Regions from separate parts of the Homo sapiens genome. Here regions 1, 2, 3 and 4 are each linked to region 5. Evidence: promoter capture Hi-C in 16 types of primary human blood cells and fetal thymus (Javierre and others, 2016). All regions are on one chromosome and are shown on one strand. Each heading gives the region's core, a stretch centred on a gene start or on the middle of the fragment in contact. The rest is flanking DNA. Distances are from core to core; before and after follow the strand shown. Region 1 overlaps NT5DC1 (5'-nucleotidase domain containing 1). Region 2 overlaps NT5DC1 (5'-nucleotidase domain containing 1). Region 3 overlaps NT5DC1 (5'-nucleotidase domain containing 1). Region 4 overlaps NT5DC1 (5'-nucleotidase domain containing 1). Region 5 holds the start of CALHM5 (calcium homeostasis modulator family member 5).

What was found. Contacts are between HindIII fragments. The CHiCAGO score rates a contact against its expected background, and 5 or more counts as called.
Region 1: a fragment that was not itself captured here is called in contact with the fragment with the promoter of CALHM5 in region 5 in 1 of 17 cell types (naive B cells); the score reaches 5.5 in naive B cells.
Region 2: a contact is called between a fragment that was not itself captured here and the fragment with the promoter of CALHM5 in region 5, in 1 of 17 cell types (total CD8 T cells). The highest score is 5.1, in total CD8 T cells.
Region 3: a contact is called between a fragment that was not itself captured here and the fragment with the promoter of CALHM5 in region 5, in 1 of 17 cell types (total B cells). The highest score is 5.7, in total B cells.
Region 4: a contact is called between a fragment that was not itself captured here and the fragment with the promoter of CALHM5 in region 5, in 6 of 17 cell types (neutrophils, total B cells, naive B cells and 3 more). The highest score is 10.3, in neutrophils.

Annotation. Positions count from the first base shown.
Region 1 is chr6:116,118,653-116,121,152 of GRCh38, forward strand. The region is part of intron 6 of NT5DC1 (5'-nucleotidase domain containing 1); the gene reads left to right. COL10A1 (collagen type X alpha 1 chain) reads right to left here. Exons shown (of 3, transcript NM_000493.4): 3 at 257-2,500. The coding sequence ends at 1,421. Among named protein-coding and RNA genes, the nearest start is that of COL10A1, 6.2 kb to the right of the region's middle. The HindIII fragment of the contact is 1,059 bases long and covers 722-1,780 here.
Region 2 is chr6:116,185,871-116,188,570 of GRCh38, forward strand. All of the region lies in intron 6 of NT5DC1 (5'-nucleotidase domain containing 1), which reads left to right. It also overlaps a transcript of COL10A1 not described here. Among named protein-coding and RNA genes, the nearest start is that of COL10A1, 61 kb to the left of the region's middle. The HindIII fragment of the contact is 2,343 bases long and covers 258-2,600 here.
Region 3 is chr6:116,209,928-116,212,627 of GRCh38, forward strand. All of the region lies in intron 6 of NT5DC1 (5'-nucleotidase domain containing 1), which reads left to right. It also overlaps a transcript of COL10A1 not described here. Among named protein-coding and RNA genes, the nearest start is that of TSPYL4, 43 kb to the right of the region's middle. The HindIII fragment of the contact is 3,295 bases long and covers 1-2,700 here.
Region 4 is chr6:116,228,045-116,230,744 of GRCh38, forward strand. All of the region lies in intron 8 of NT5DC1 (5'-nucleotidase domain containing 1), which reads left to right. Among named protein-coding and RNA genes, the nearest start is that of TSPYL4, 25 kb to the right of the region's middle. The HindIII fragment of the contact is 1,023 bases long and covers 875-1,897 here.
Region 5 is chr6:116,510,311-116,513,010 of GRCh38, forward strand. It overlaps CALHM5 (calcium homeostasis modulator family member 5), which reads left to right and starts at 1,329. Exons shown (of 2, transcript NM_153711.5): 1 at 1,329-1,926. The coding sequence starts at 1,387. The region is part of intron 3 of TRAPPC3L (trafficking protein particle complex subunit 3L); the gene reads right to left. RefSeq lists an enhancer at 1,040-1,621. The HindIII fragment of the contact is 2,544 bases long and covers 1-2,079 here.

The DNA.
Region 1 (2,500 bases), core at 1-2,500, 390 kb before region 5:
ATGTCAAGACAATAAATAGTAACTGCAGAATATTTGTTCAAACTGCATATTTCTCTGTCACCTGCTTCTTTCCCTCCCAGGAGAAAATTACAACTTTGGGGTGATTTTGTCATTTTTCTATCCCTAGTCATCAGCCCTTGACCCTGACTCAGATTGCATGTGGTTTTGTGGGTACCTCTTCACAGTCAACAATGAGTGGTTGGGTCTGTGGGAATAAAGATGCATCACCAATATAGGGACATATCCATGACAACTGTAAAAGCCACCCATCACTTTATTGTCCTACTTTTTTATTAACTTTGAACAATGAAAAGCCTTGAAAGAATGGTTGAGAACAGCAAATTGCTGCTTTCAAATTAATTCAGCCTAAAAATCTATTGATGTTATTTTATTGCGTCGTAAATAAGGAGTAGGTAAAACATTTTGTGCTTTAATAAGTGAGGCACAGCTTAAAAGTTTTAAACAGCAATATAAAAATACAGTACAGTGCATAAATAAATAATATATCTCCACTTCTAGTCGAATTTTGAAACCCTCAGTGTAAATTATAACTTCACTTGAATGGGAGGCACAAGGTACATGTGCTAATGTTCTGTAAATCCAGAAAATCATATCACATAAGATTCAATAAGGAATTAAAGAAATCAAATTAATCACACTTGTGTTAACTAAATAAGAATAGGTCAGATACCTGTTTCCAAGTTATGCTGGGTATATAAAAAGCTTCTCTGCAATCATAGAAAAGTTTGAAAAGGTTCATTGATGAAAGCACCTTGCATTTCAGATGAACTTCAATATTTTGGGGCTTTTTTATATAAGAGCTTTAACAAGTATATATGCACCTGTATATTTGAATAGATATTGATGAAAGGGGCCATACAGGCCTCAGAGTAGTGCACCATCAGAAATATTTTAGGGGATACAGTGTCTTTTAAATTTGAATATTCAAGTATTTAAGTTCTACAAAGTTATATGATACCTCCTGGATGTTTCCTAGAAGTTCTCATATTCATAGTTAGAAACAGGCTTTTTTAAAAAGGAAATGCCGAGTTTCTCAAATCAAATTTCACATAACTTAGAGCTCTATTTCTGTTTTTTTTTTTAATTTTTTTTTTGTTGTTTGTTTTTTGTTGTTTGTTTTTAACATAGCAGGACTTCTTTGGTGATATTTTTTAATATTGGAGAAAACCTTAAAGAGCCTTAAGATTGCTAACTAGAAATTCAAGAGAGGCTTCACATACGTTTTTACGTTGCTGCTCACTTTTCAGGGGGAAGGTTTGTTGGTCTGATAGCTCAAATCTGTATTTCAGAAAATAAAAATTACATTCTTTTCAGCCTACCTCCATATGCATTTTGTAGGGTGGGGTAGAGTTAGAGAATGCTTTTTCTAGCACAAGATTTAGATTAGCTCTGTGTGTACTCACATTGGAGCCACTAGGAATCCTGAGAAAGAGGAGTGGACATACTCAGAGGAGTATAGGCCATTTGACTCGGCATTGGGAAGCTGGAGCCACACCTGGTCATTTTCTGTGAGATCGATGATGGCACTCCCTGAAGCCTGATCCAGGTAGCCTTTGGTGTATTCATCATAGGTGTACATTACAGGGGTGCCATTCTTATACAGGCCTACCCAAACATGAGTCCCTTTCACATGCACGTGGTATGAAAAATAGTATATTCCTGGTATCTGACAAGTAAAGATTCCAGTCCTTGGGTCATAATGCTGTTGCCTGTTATACAAAATTTTATCAAATGGTATGGGAGTTCCTATTGCTGGGTAAGCTTTGGAGAGAATAACAGTAAAAGCAGACACAGGCATTCCTGTTACCCCCTGGTTGGCACTAACAAGAGGGGTCCCAGAAAGACTGGGCCTTTGGCCTGCCTTTATAAAACCCTCAGGCATGACTGCTTGACCTGGTGGGCCTGGAGGCCCAGGGGGCCCTGGAAGACCAGGCTCTCCAGAGTGGCCTCTTGGACCTGGAGGCCCTGGTGGCCCGGTGGGTCCATTGAGGCCCTTAGTTGCTATGCCAGCTGGGCCAGGAGGACCGGGACTTCCTGGATCCCCTTTAGACCCAGGGAATCCTGGAATGCCTGGTGGCCCAATAGGGCCTCTAGTACCTGGTATTCCAGGGGCACCTCTTGGGCCAGCCTCTCCATTGTGTCCGGGCATTCCCTTTGCTCCTGCTGGGCCCACAGGGCCTGGGAGACCAGGAGGTCCTCCAACTCCAGGATCACCTTTTGGACCTGGTAACCCTGGGTTACCCTTAGGACCATCGAGACCTGGTTTTCCTGGGTACCCTGGTTTTCCATCTGACCCAGGGGAACCCCTTTCACCCTTAGCCCCAGGGTATCCTGCAGGCCCAGCTGGCCCTGTCTCACCTTTAGGGCCTGGGAGACCATGGCTACCCGGGATGCCTTTTGGTCCTTGGGGTCCCATATTCCCAGGGGGTCCAGTCAGACCTGGCTTCCCAGGAAGACCTGCTGGCCCTTGTTCCCCTTT
Region 2 (2,700 bases), core at 179-2,678, 320 kb before region 5:
TAGTATTGAGATGTAGCATACTATTCTATTCATCCTGCAAGTTGTTTCCTGAAAACCTTGGATTTTTTTCATTGTATTGTTGTTTTATAGATCCTGTGAGATTTATGCTTTAAGGAGGTTCTATTTTGGTGTATTTCAAGGATTTCTTTCAAGATTTAGAGCTTCTTATAGTGGTTCTTGTAGTTCTCTTTTGGTAATGGCAAATTCTCGCAGCATTTGTTTGTCTAAAAAAGACTGTGTCTTCCCTTCATTTATGAAGCTTAGTTTCACTGGATACAAAATTCTTATATGATAATTATTTTGTTTAAGGAGAACAAAGGTAGGACCCCAATGCTGTCTAGCTTGTAGGGTTTCTGCTGAGAAATCTGCTGTTAATCTGATAGGTTTTCCTTTAAAAGTTACCTGATGCTTTTGTCTCATAGCTCTTAAGATTTTTTTTTTTTTTCATCTTCACTTTAGATAACCTGGTGACTGTGTGCCTAGGTGGTGATCTTTTTGCGATGAATTTCCCAGGTGTTCTTCCCAGAGCTGCTTGTATTTGGATGCCTAGATCTCTAGCAAGGCTGGGGAAGTTGTCCTCGATTATTCCCTCAAACATGTTTCCCAGACTTTTAGATTTCTCTTCTTCCTCAGGAACACCAGTTGTTCTTAGGTTTGGTCATTTAACATAATCCCAAACTTATTGGAGGCTTTGTTCATTTTTATTTAATTCTTTTTTCTTTGTCTTTGTTGGATTGAGTTAATTTGAAAGCCTTGTCTTCGAGCTCTGACTTTTTCTTCTACTTGTTCGATTCTGTTGCTGCGAGTTTCCAGTGCATTTTGCATTTCTCTAAGTGTGTCCTTGACTTCCAGAAATTGTGATTGCTTTTTTATTTATGCCATGTATTTCACTGGAGATTTTTTCATTCGTATCCTGTATCATTTTTTTGATTTCTTTAAGTTGGACTTGTGCCTCCTTGATTGACTTAATAGTTGATCTTCTAAATTCTTTTTCTGGCAATTCAGAGATTTAGTCTTAGTTTGGATCCATTGCTGGTGAGCTAGTGTTATCTTTTGGGGGTGTTAACCATGTTTGTCATATTACCAGAATTGTTTTTCTGGTTCCTTCTCATTTGGGTAAACTATGTCAGATGGTAGATCCGGGACTCAAGGGCTACCGTTCAGATTCTTTTGTCCCACAGGGTGCTCCCTTGTTGTGGTGTTCTCCCCTTTCCCCTAGAAATGGCTCCCTGAGAGCCAGACTGCAGTGATGCTATTTCTCCTCTGAATCTAGCCACCCAGCAGAGCTACTGGGCTTTGATCTGGTACTGGGAAGTGTCTGCACAGAGTCCTGTGATGTGATCTGTATTCAGGTCTCTTAGCTGTGGCTACCAGCACCTGCTCCAGGAAAGGTAGCAGGGGAGCGAAGTGGACTCTGTGAGGGTCATTAGTTGTATTTTTGTTAAGTCCAACCAAAATTTTAACAAGTTTCTTTATAGAAAACTGAAGCTCATGCCACAATTTATATGGAAATGAAAAGGGCCATGAAGAGCCAAGACACTCATGAAGAACAGGGCAAGAGGGTCTGTCCTACAAGACACTAGCAAATAATTCATGGCTTATTTTAAAGTTACAGTAATTTGGTCAGAGTGCTTTTGGTATAAAGACTGACAACTAGAAGATCACTGAACCGGAGATGCCAGAAAAGACCTTTGCAGTTGTAGACACATGCTTGATGACAGAACAGGTACAGCAGAGCAGTGGGGAAAGGACTGTCATAAAGGGTGCCTGGAGAGTTGGAAATCTATGTAGAAATTCATAAAACTTGATCCCTACTCACATATTAGACAAAAATCAATTTCACATGGATTATAGAAACAAATATGAAAGGCAAATCAGTAAAGCTATCAGAAGAAAATCTGAGAAAAATAGCTTCATAGCTTAAAGATAATGAAATATTTCTTAAATAGGATAGAAACAGTATTGATTGATTGTAAAGGAAAAGTGAATAAATTTGACAAACATTAAACGTCTCTCTTCATAAAAAATTACTAAGAACGAAAGGGCAAGTTATAGAAGAGAAGATATTTGGAATACATATAATGATAAAAAGACTTTTATCTAGTGTAAAAAAGACCTATAAATCAGTAACAGGAAGACAGCAACCCAGTAGAAAATGAACAAAAGTCTTGACAGGCAGTTTACAAATAGGGAACTCTAAATGGCCAATAAACATGAAAATGTGCTTATGCTTATTAACAGTCATGAGAGTGCTAATTAAAGTTCAATGAGGTACCACTAGATATCCATCAGAATAGTTGGAATTAAAGAATCTAGTGATTTCAGTGGTTGGTGAGGATGTGAAGCAAAGAGAACCCTTAAACTGCTGGTGGGAGTGTAAATTGTTGAGTTGGTTTTGAAAATTGTTGAGTATTATCCTATAAAGTTGAAAGTGAGCATTCCCTATGACACAGCCATATTAGGCTGCAATATATACCATCCAGAATGTTCTTAGTGGCATTCACTATTACACCAAATTAGAGACAGCCCAAATATCCCTCAATAGTGCAGTTGCTATGCAGTGTGTCATACAGTGACATTCTATTCATCAATGAAAATGAAGCTTTATGAACAACATGAATGAATCTTAAAAACAGAAAATGAGAGAGAAAAAGCCAGTAATACAGGATATACATATTCTATGGTTGCATTTATAAAATA
Region 3 (2,700 bases), core at 71-2,570, 300 kb before region 5:
CAAACATATAGATTTAGACACATAAATGATGAGGTTTAGTGGATTAGGATTCTTGAGGACTCTATTCCATACCCAAGTTTGTTACTAACCGTAATTTTGAGCAAAATATGTGGTGGCTACTTAATCATCTTTAATATGACAAGGTTGAAGGGTGTGATTTCTAAGGCTCCTTTTAATTCTAGATATAATTAGAATGCATATTGATGGATACTTTTTTCCTCTGCAGAAATCTAATTTGGTGTTTCAATTTTCCTTTATGGCTTTTGAGTTCAGTGCCATGCTTAAAAGACTTTCCACATTGCAAGATTTTAAATAAATTTATATGTAAGGTTCAAAAAGAAGCTAATTTGATTTGTCAAAATTTATCCAAATTCTGAACTCTCACTTATTAAAATTCTGAACAACCTCAAACCCCTGAAATGTAATAATGTACCATGTGAAAAAAAAAAAGAGTAAAGATTTGTGGTGACCCTGTAGTTACCATAGAGTCCCCAAATGCCTTGTAACTGGGCAGTATTGCACAAGCTCCGAAAGCAGACCGCCTGCATTCAAATTCCGATTCTGCCACATGGTAGCTGTGTGACTTTGGGCAAGTTCCTTAGCCTCTCTGTATCTCGGATTTTCAGTTGCAAAACGGGAATCATATAGGACCTGTTCCTGGGGTCATTATGAGGATTAAATCCATTAATAGTTATAAAGGTCTTGGAACTGTGTTTGGCAAAAATAAGCACTCAGATTATGTCAGTTATTATGAGGATAATTATTATAAATAATCTATTTTAAAAGTGATATTAAGTTAAAACCATGGAAATGTTTTAAAATAAATGTTAATGCCATAGGAAATTCCTCAGATACAATGCTGAACAGAAACACAGGTAAAAAAAACTATATATGGTATGCTTAAAATTCCCACAGAGTTAGATATGAACAGAAAATATACTGGCAGGAATCACATAGAAGTATTAGTATGTTTGGCAGCTAGTCTACAAAGATAGCTCTCTAATGAATCATGCCTCCCAGAAGTCACACCTTTCTGTTTTCTTCTCCTTGAAAATGAGCTGGACCTCTATCATCAGTAAAATTCAGCAGAAGTGCTACTGTAAAATTCCTAAAACTAGGTCATAAGGAGCCTTGCAGCTTTTGCTTGTCTTAAAACACTTGCTCTGGGGGAAACCCACCGCCACTTAAGAAGTCCAACTACTGTGAGACCCAAATGCAGAGAGAAAGCTCAAGCTAGCTAAGTGGAGAGATGTTTGTTTCACCAGCTCTCACCGTTCCAGCCAGCCCAGCCCAGGTGCCAGACAGTGAGTGAAGAAACCCTTAGATGATTCCATACCCCCGGGCACAACTCCAAGTGAGAAATGCCTGGCTGAGTTCAGTCAACCCTCAGAATCAGGAGATGATAATACATTGTTATTTTAAGCCATCATGTTTGAGGTGGTTTGTTGTGCAGCAATAAAAAACCCAATACAATGAATTTTCTCTAGCAAAAGTGTATCATATATAAGAAAAGCAATAATTTAATCTCTTTAAATAGTTCTTTTTTCCATATAGGTTCAACAGTAAGAGTTGACTGTATTTTATGTATGTTTTTATATTGTATATTTGGTTATTCTTAATTAACCTACAAATTAATTTAACTAGAACAGCCATTCATTAGCCATGCCAAATAAGTATAAATGTATTGGACTTAGAATAATTTACATGTAAAAAATATAGAGTCCACGAAGTATATTTATTCCTGGACAAACTGTGTACAAATTCTGTACTACCTATTACAGAGAATTTCCTTTTTCTAAGACATTTTTATAAGATTTTTCTCGACTATAACAAAGGGAGGGATATTGGAATGTTTGCTTTGTTGTACTGTGCAAATCTAAGAGAATCTAAGTCTGTGGTTCTTCATGTCCCTAGCCTCAGGAATCTAATTAAAGCTAGAGAGCCTACACCTGCTCTGATCCCCCAACACACACAACACACTGATGAACAAAATGTTGCAAAGAGTATTGGGGTTTCATTCACGCAGTGAGGCCTGTGTATGGATTTTAGGATAAGAACCCAGGCTTAGGGCATTATTACTCCTCAAGCAATGTTGCAGAGTATTACACATAGACTATCCTATATATTTATGTTTGTTATATCAAAGAAATTATTTCATTATTCTAATACTATTTTATCAATTCTTTTTCAAATTTTTTATTAAAAAGTTAATAACTCTGTCAAAACAATTATCAGAGTTAAAATCTCACTGATTTGAAACTTTAGTATGTTCTTTTTTCCTTTTTCTTTTGTTATCATGGAGTAACTAGCCAGGTGATATTTTATGAAAGCATATAGAAGATATGACTGATACAAATACAGGTGGAAAAGTATAGTGAAAAACAGAGTAGTGCCTCATTAAAATAGCTGCTTAACTACTCTGTCTATGCAAGGTATAGATGTGGCACAGACCTAGGAGGCTAGAGAGGGCTTTCCTATTTATATAATACACTGTCTGGACATTGAACAAGTAATCCTTTGTGATTATAATCTTTATGTGTGTTCTGAAATGGATTGCTTCTAAGTGAAATACAACTCTGCATACTTTTGGCTTTATTAGTAAGAAAAGATATTTCTGAAGAAACTGAGGATATCTGAACTAAATTAATTAAGGAAACAGTGCACTCTTGTGATAAAATTTGATCTTTAAAATGCATATTC
Region 4 (2,700 bases), core at 136-2,635, 280 kb before region 5:
ACTAGCAGTCTACTGTGTTTCATTCTCTTCTGTGGTTTTAGAGATGAAAAATCTGGATTGATGAAGCAGGACCAAAAGTCCTACCAGTCTCTGTAATGAAGACTGTAAAGTGCTTAGCAATCTCAGCGTATATAGGATTTCATGCTTTTTGTACAGATATTTAGAAAAATTTACCTCATTTTGGCCGGGAGCGGTGGCTCACGCCTGTAATCCCACCACTTTGGGAGGCTGAGGCGGACGAATCACCTGAGGTCAGGAGTTCAAGACCAGCCTGACCAACATGGAGAAACCTCGTCTCTACTAAAAATATAAAATCAGGCGGGCATGGTGGCACATGCCTGTAATCCCAGCTACTAGAGAGGCTGAGGCAGGAGAATCGCTTGAACCTGGGAGGCAGAGGTTGCGGTGAGCCAAGATCGCGCCATTGCACTCCAGCCTGGGCAACAAGAGTGAAACTCCGACTCAAAAAAAAAAAGAAGAAAAGTTTAGCTCATTTTTATCACATCCAGGAGGGCTAGATGTCTAAGGTTCTTTCCAGCCCTTGTTTTCTAGGCCTCTGATTTAAAATATTTCAGTGGAAGAAATATTTTTTAGAATTAAACCAAAATACTTTTTTCTATTTAGAATGCAAAAAAGATTGCGAGAACTATTACTAATTACAGGATTATACTGCACATACTTTAAAATCCCTACTTCATTACATTCTCTATTATGTGTCTATTCTGCTGCTGATTCTGATTCTGATTCGTCAGCTACCTCTAACTGCTTTACCTCCATTTCTGCTACCTTTCTCTTTTAATGTTGATATTCCCTAACATTCTGTATTTGGCTCTCCTTTCTTCTCCTGTTGTCCTTCAGCTCTCTACCACTGGGAAGCTTTTAACTATCATCTATATACTGATGGTTGACATTTCCTTGTCTCTGGGCTTCACATTTCTCTGACCTTCAGAAGCCCATTTCTATCTGTCTTCTAAAATCTTCACATCCCACAGCCCCAGGGTGGCAGGAAAGTTGATGTGCTTGCAACAGCTCATTAAATCCCCATCCCATTTTAGCATGCCCCTCTTCCCATATTCCATAATTACATTTTAGTTACTTTTCCAAGCACAGACTTTAACCAAGCTAGTAAGCAAAAACCACAATTACTTTTGCACTAACCTAAAAAATCAGTCATCCTCATTTCTTCCCTCCCTTTTAAGTTGTCCTTCTGTTTTCTCAGGTTTGTCCTCACTACATTCCCACCACTGCCCGCATCATCCCTTGTGTGAAATGGCACAATATTTAAGTCATTGCTCCAAATGGTTAAAGTAAAGTTAATGCAACTGAGCTGGCTGGGATGGAAGGCACAGCGAGCCAATCACGAAACACAGCATGGCCTTAGCGAGTCGCACAGGTTTGACGTCAGCGGTTGTCATGGTAACAGGGGCAAAGATGCTGATGCCAGTGTCAGTCAGGACTGAGCTCCTCCCTCCAGTCTGATTCCTGCCAGTGCTTAAGGATGTATGGAGGGGAGAAGCGTCTTCCAAGCAAAATCTTCATCCTCTGTTCTCTATCACGTGCAGTGCGTCACCAGATCCTCGCCAGTGCTGAGGGTGGGGATACGGGGGAATCTCTGACTTGCAAGATTAAATTATCATTGGAGAGGGAACGTGTCAGCCTTGTTCACCGCAGTGTCGCCAATGCTGCTAGCTCAGTTCCTGCCCCTGCCCACCATTGGGAGAATCATGAGCCAACTCTCTCTGTCTCTCCTCTCTCTCTCTCTGTCTCGTCCCTTGGCCTTAGCTGTCACCAATACACTGACTCTGACTCCCAAATCTTTCCCTGAGACCTGTTTTCCTGAGTCTCATACGCAGTTCCTCCTCCACACTAGGCAGCTCCACTCAGTGTTCTGATATCAAGCTTGAGATTCTCCTTCCGCCTAGAAACCAAAAACAACCAAACATGCCGGTCACCTTGTGTGTATTCTTTACTTAACCATCCATTAGAATTCTCCAGCTAATAACCTCCGTTGTCTTCACCCTTTTACCTCCAGTGTGCTATGCATTAAATCCTGCTTAATATACCTGGGAAATCTCTCATCTTTGTCCTCCTCTCCCTTTCCACTAGGCCATCTAACCCCTCCCCAACCTCTCTTCACTTTTCATTAGCACAGACTTCTATTTTTGAGTTCTTTAAAATTTCCCACATCTTTTTTTATTATTTACTTAGGCACAAATATATTTAATCACATGCACACAATATCTCATTGGCTTCCATTCCATATAGCATCCTAAGGCTAATTGTACAGTCTTGTTCCTAAATTACCTTTCCATCTTCCTTAACTCTATCTCCATAAAAGTACCCTTTACTCCTACTGAAATGATTGCCTTTTATTCTTATATCAAGTTTTTGTTCTCGCTATTCTGTCAACATCAGTGTTTCTCAGACTTTCATGTACACGTGAATCACCTAGAGATCTTGTTAAAATGGAGATTCTGATTCAGAGGCCCTGGTGAAACCTTAGATTCTGCATTTCTAAATAACTTGTCTGGTGAAGCAGATGCTACTGGTTGGAAGATCACACTTTGAGTGGCATAGATATATGTAGAATGCCTTCTCCCTTTCCTCTCTGGTGACTTCCTACCTCTTATTTAAGGTCAGACATACAAATCACACCTCCTTTGCGATACCTTCCTTCTGCAGCTCCAGTCAGAGCTGTTT
Region 5 (2,700 bases), core at 79-2,578:
CTTGCTCTGTCACCCAGACTGGAATGCAGTGGCATGATTTGGCTCACCACAACCTCAGCCTCCTGGGCTCAAGCGATCCTCCCATCTCTGCCTCCTGAGTAGCTGGGACTACAGGTGCATGCCACCGAGCCTGGCTAATTTTTTTTTGGTATTTTTTTGTAGAGAGGGAGATTCACCATGTTGCCTAGGCTGGTCTCGTACTCCTTGGCTCAAGCAATCCACCTGCCTCGACCTCCCAAAATGCTAGGATTACAGACATGAACCACGGCACCTTTCTTTCATTCTTAAAGAAAGAACTTTAAGTACTAAAAGTAGATCTACTATTCAGTCCAGCAATCCCACTACTGGGTATCTATCCAAAGAAAAAGAAGTCATTATATATTAAAAAAAAACACCTGCACATGTATATTTATTGCAACACAATTCACAATTGCAAAGATATGAAACCAATCTAAGTACCCATCAACTGATGAATAGATAAAGAAACTGTGGTGTATATATACCATGGAATACTACTCAGTCATAAAAAAGAATGAAATAATGTCTTTTGCAGCAACTTGATGGAGCTAGAGGCGTTATTCCAAGCGAAGTAACTCGGAAATAGAAAACCAAAAACTGTAGTTCTCACTTATAAGTGGAAATTAAGCTATGGGTACGTAAAGGCATATGGAGTGGTATAATGGACTTTGGAGACTCAGAAAGAGGGAGAGTGGGAAGGGGGTGAGGGATAAAAAAATACATATTGGGTACACATACATATCCGGTGATGGGTGCACTAAAATCTCATATATATATGTATATATATATATATGTATATTTATATGTATATTTCATCCATGTAACCAAAACCCACTTGTGCTCCAAAAGCTATTGATATATATATATATATATAATTTTCATATGTTTTTATATATATGAAAAAAGACAGCAAATCCCTGTCTTCCAAATCTCAAGTCATAGGAAGAGAAAAACATTCATAAAATTCTAGGTTTGGAGATTTGATTTGTCGGCTGAAACCTCTTTCTGTTAATGTTGATTCCTTACACTGGAAAATTCCTAGACTATTATTTGTATGAGTGAGAATTTCTTTTCTGATTTTCAATCCAAACCACATGGAAAGAAGGTTAAAATGGAGCCCGTGCACTTTGAATTTATTCTCAGCATTTAGGCTGCAGTATCACAGCCCAATTTCCACCAGTAGGAGGCATTATCTAAACATGTTGAGAAATATTCATTCCTAAGGAATGACATTGTTTCCTTATCTGGCTCAATTCAGTCTGAGAAGGACTGTTGTTTCTGATGAAGAAAGAGCTCCACCCTCGGCCACTGCCACAGCTGCTCTGCCAATAACAAAGGCACAGCATTTTCCCTCTGTGCATCTCCAACATGGATGCTTTTCAGGGCATTTTAAAATTCTTCCTTAATCAGAAAACTGTTATTGGCTACAGCTTCATGGCTCTGCTGACCGTGGGAAGTGAGCGTCTCTTTTCTGTTGTGGCTTTTAAGTGCCCCTGCAGCACTGAGAATATGACCTATGGGCTGGTTTTCCTCTTTGCTCCTGCCTGGGTGTTACTGATCCTGGGATTCTTTCTGAACAATAGGTCGTGGAGACTCTTCACAGGCTGCTGTGTGAATCCCAGGAAAATCTTTCCCAGAGGCCACAGCTGCCGTTTCTTCTACGTCCTCGGCCAGATCACTCTGAGCTCATTGGTGGCTCCAGTGATGTGGCTTTCTGTGGCTCTGCTCAATGGAACTTTCTATGAATGTGCCATGAGCGGGACGAGAAGTTCAGGACTCCTGGAACTGATTTGCAAGGGTAAGCCCAAAGAGTGCTGGGAAGAACTTCACAAAGTATCTTGTGGCAAAACTAGCATGCTACCTACCGTCAATGAAGAACTGAAACTCTCCCTTCAGGCCCAGTCTCAGGTAAGAAAAGACAAACTCGCCTTTTTCTCTCAGCATGAGCTCGAAGTATTCTCTCTGTGCTCCTTTCAGCCAGGGCTGTCTGTGTCCTGTCAGAATATTTTGAAACTAAATGGAAACTGAAACATGATGCAGCATTGAGACTATCTCAGGAAAAGCTTTTGAAAGGCTGGGTGGCTCAATAAAGTTGCTGACTGGATTATCTCTTTTCCGGTTCTGAAAAGAAAATATCCACTGGATTGTCCACATATAAATACTTAAGTACTTTAAAACAGTCTCTCTGGGTCTGTAAATAAATAATGCCTAACACTAAATCATAAATTGAGTGTTAATGGCAGAGCTGTAATTAGAAATTACTGCCTTCTATCAATTATTTACATTCAAGTTGTTTTCTCAAACACACACATGTATTATTCATCTATTAAAATGTAGCTGAATGAAATGAGTTATTACTTTTCAAAGTTGCATGTAATATAATTAGTGTGGAGATTCTCTTGAATGATTTCTGGCAACTGCTATCTCTGTGTATAAATATTGTCAAGATTGAGAAGAATTTTCCTTGTATGGTAGGAATCAGCAGTTTTTAAATAGCCTTCTGTGAAAAAGTGACTGTACTCTCTAGGGAGATTATGTTTTATACTCTTTGTGCTGTACAGCTAAAGGGGTTCTTAATTACTTCAGAAGCTCAAGATTTGGGCATTGTTTTATTTAACAGAAGGAAATCATATCTTTACCTAATTGATGCAGGGAAGTAGCCTGTCATTCCTCCAGGCACAT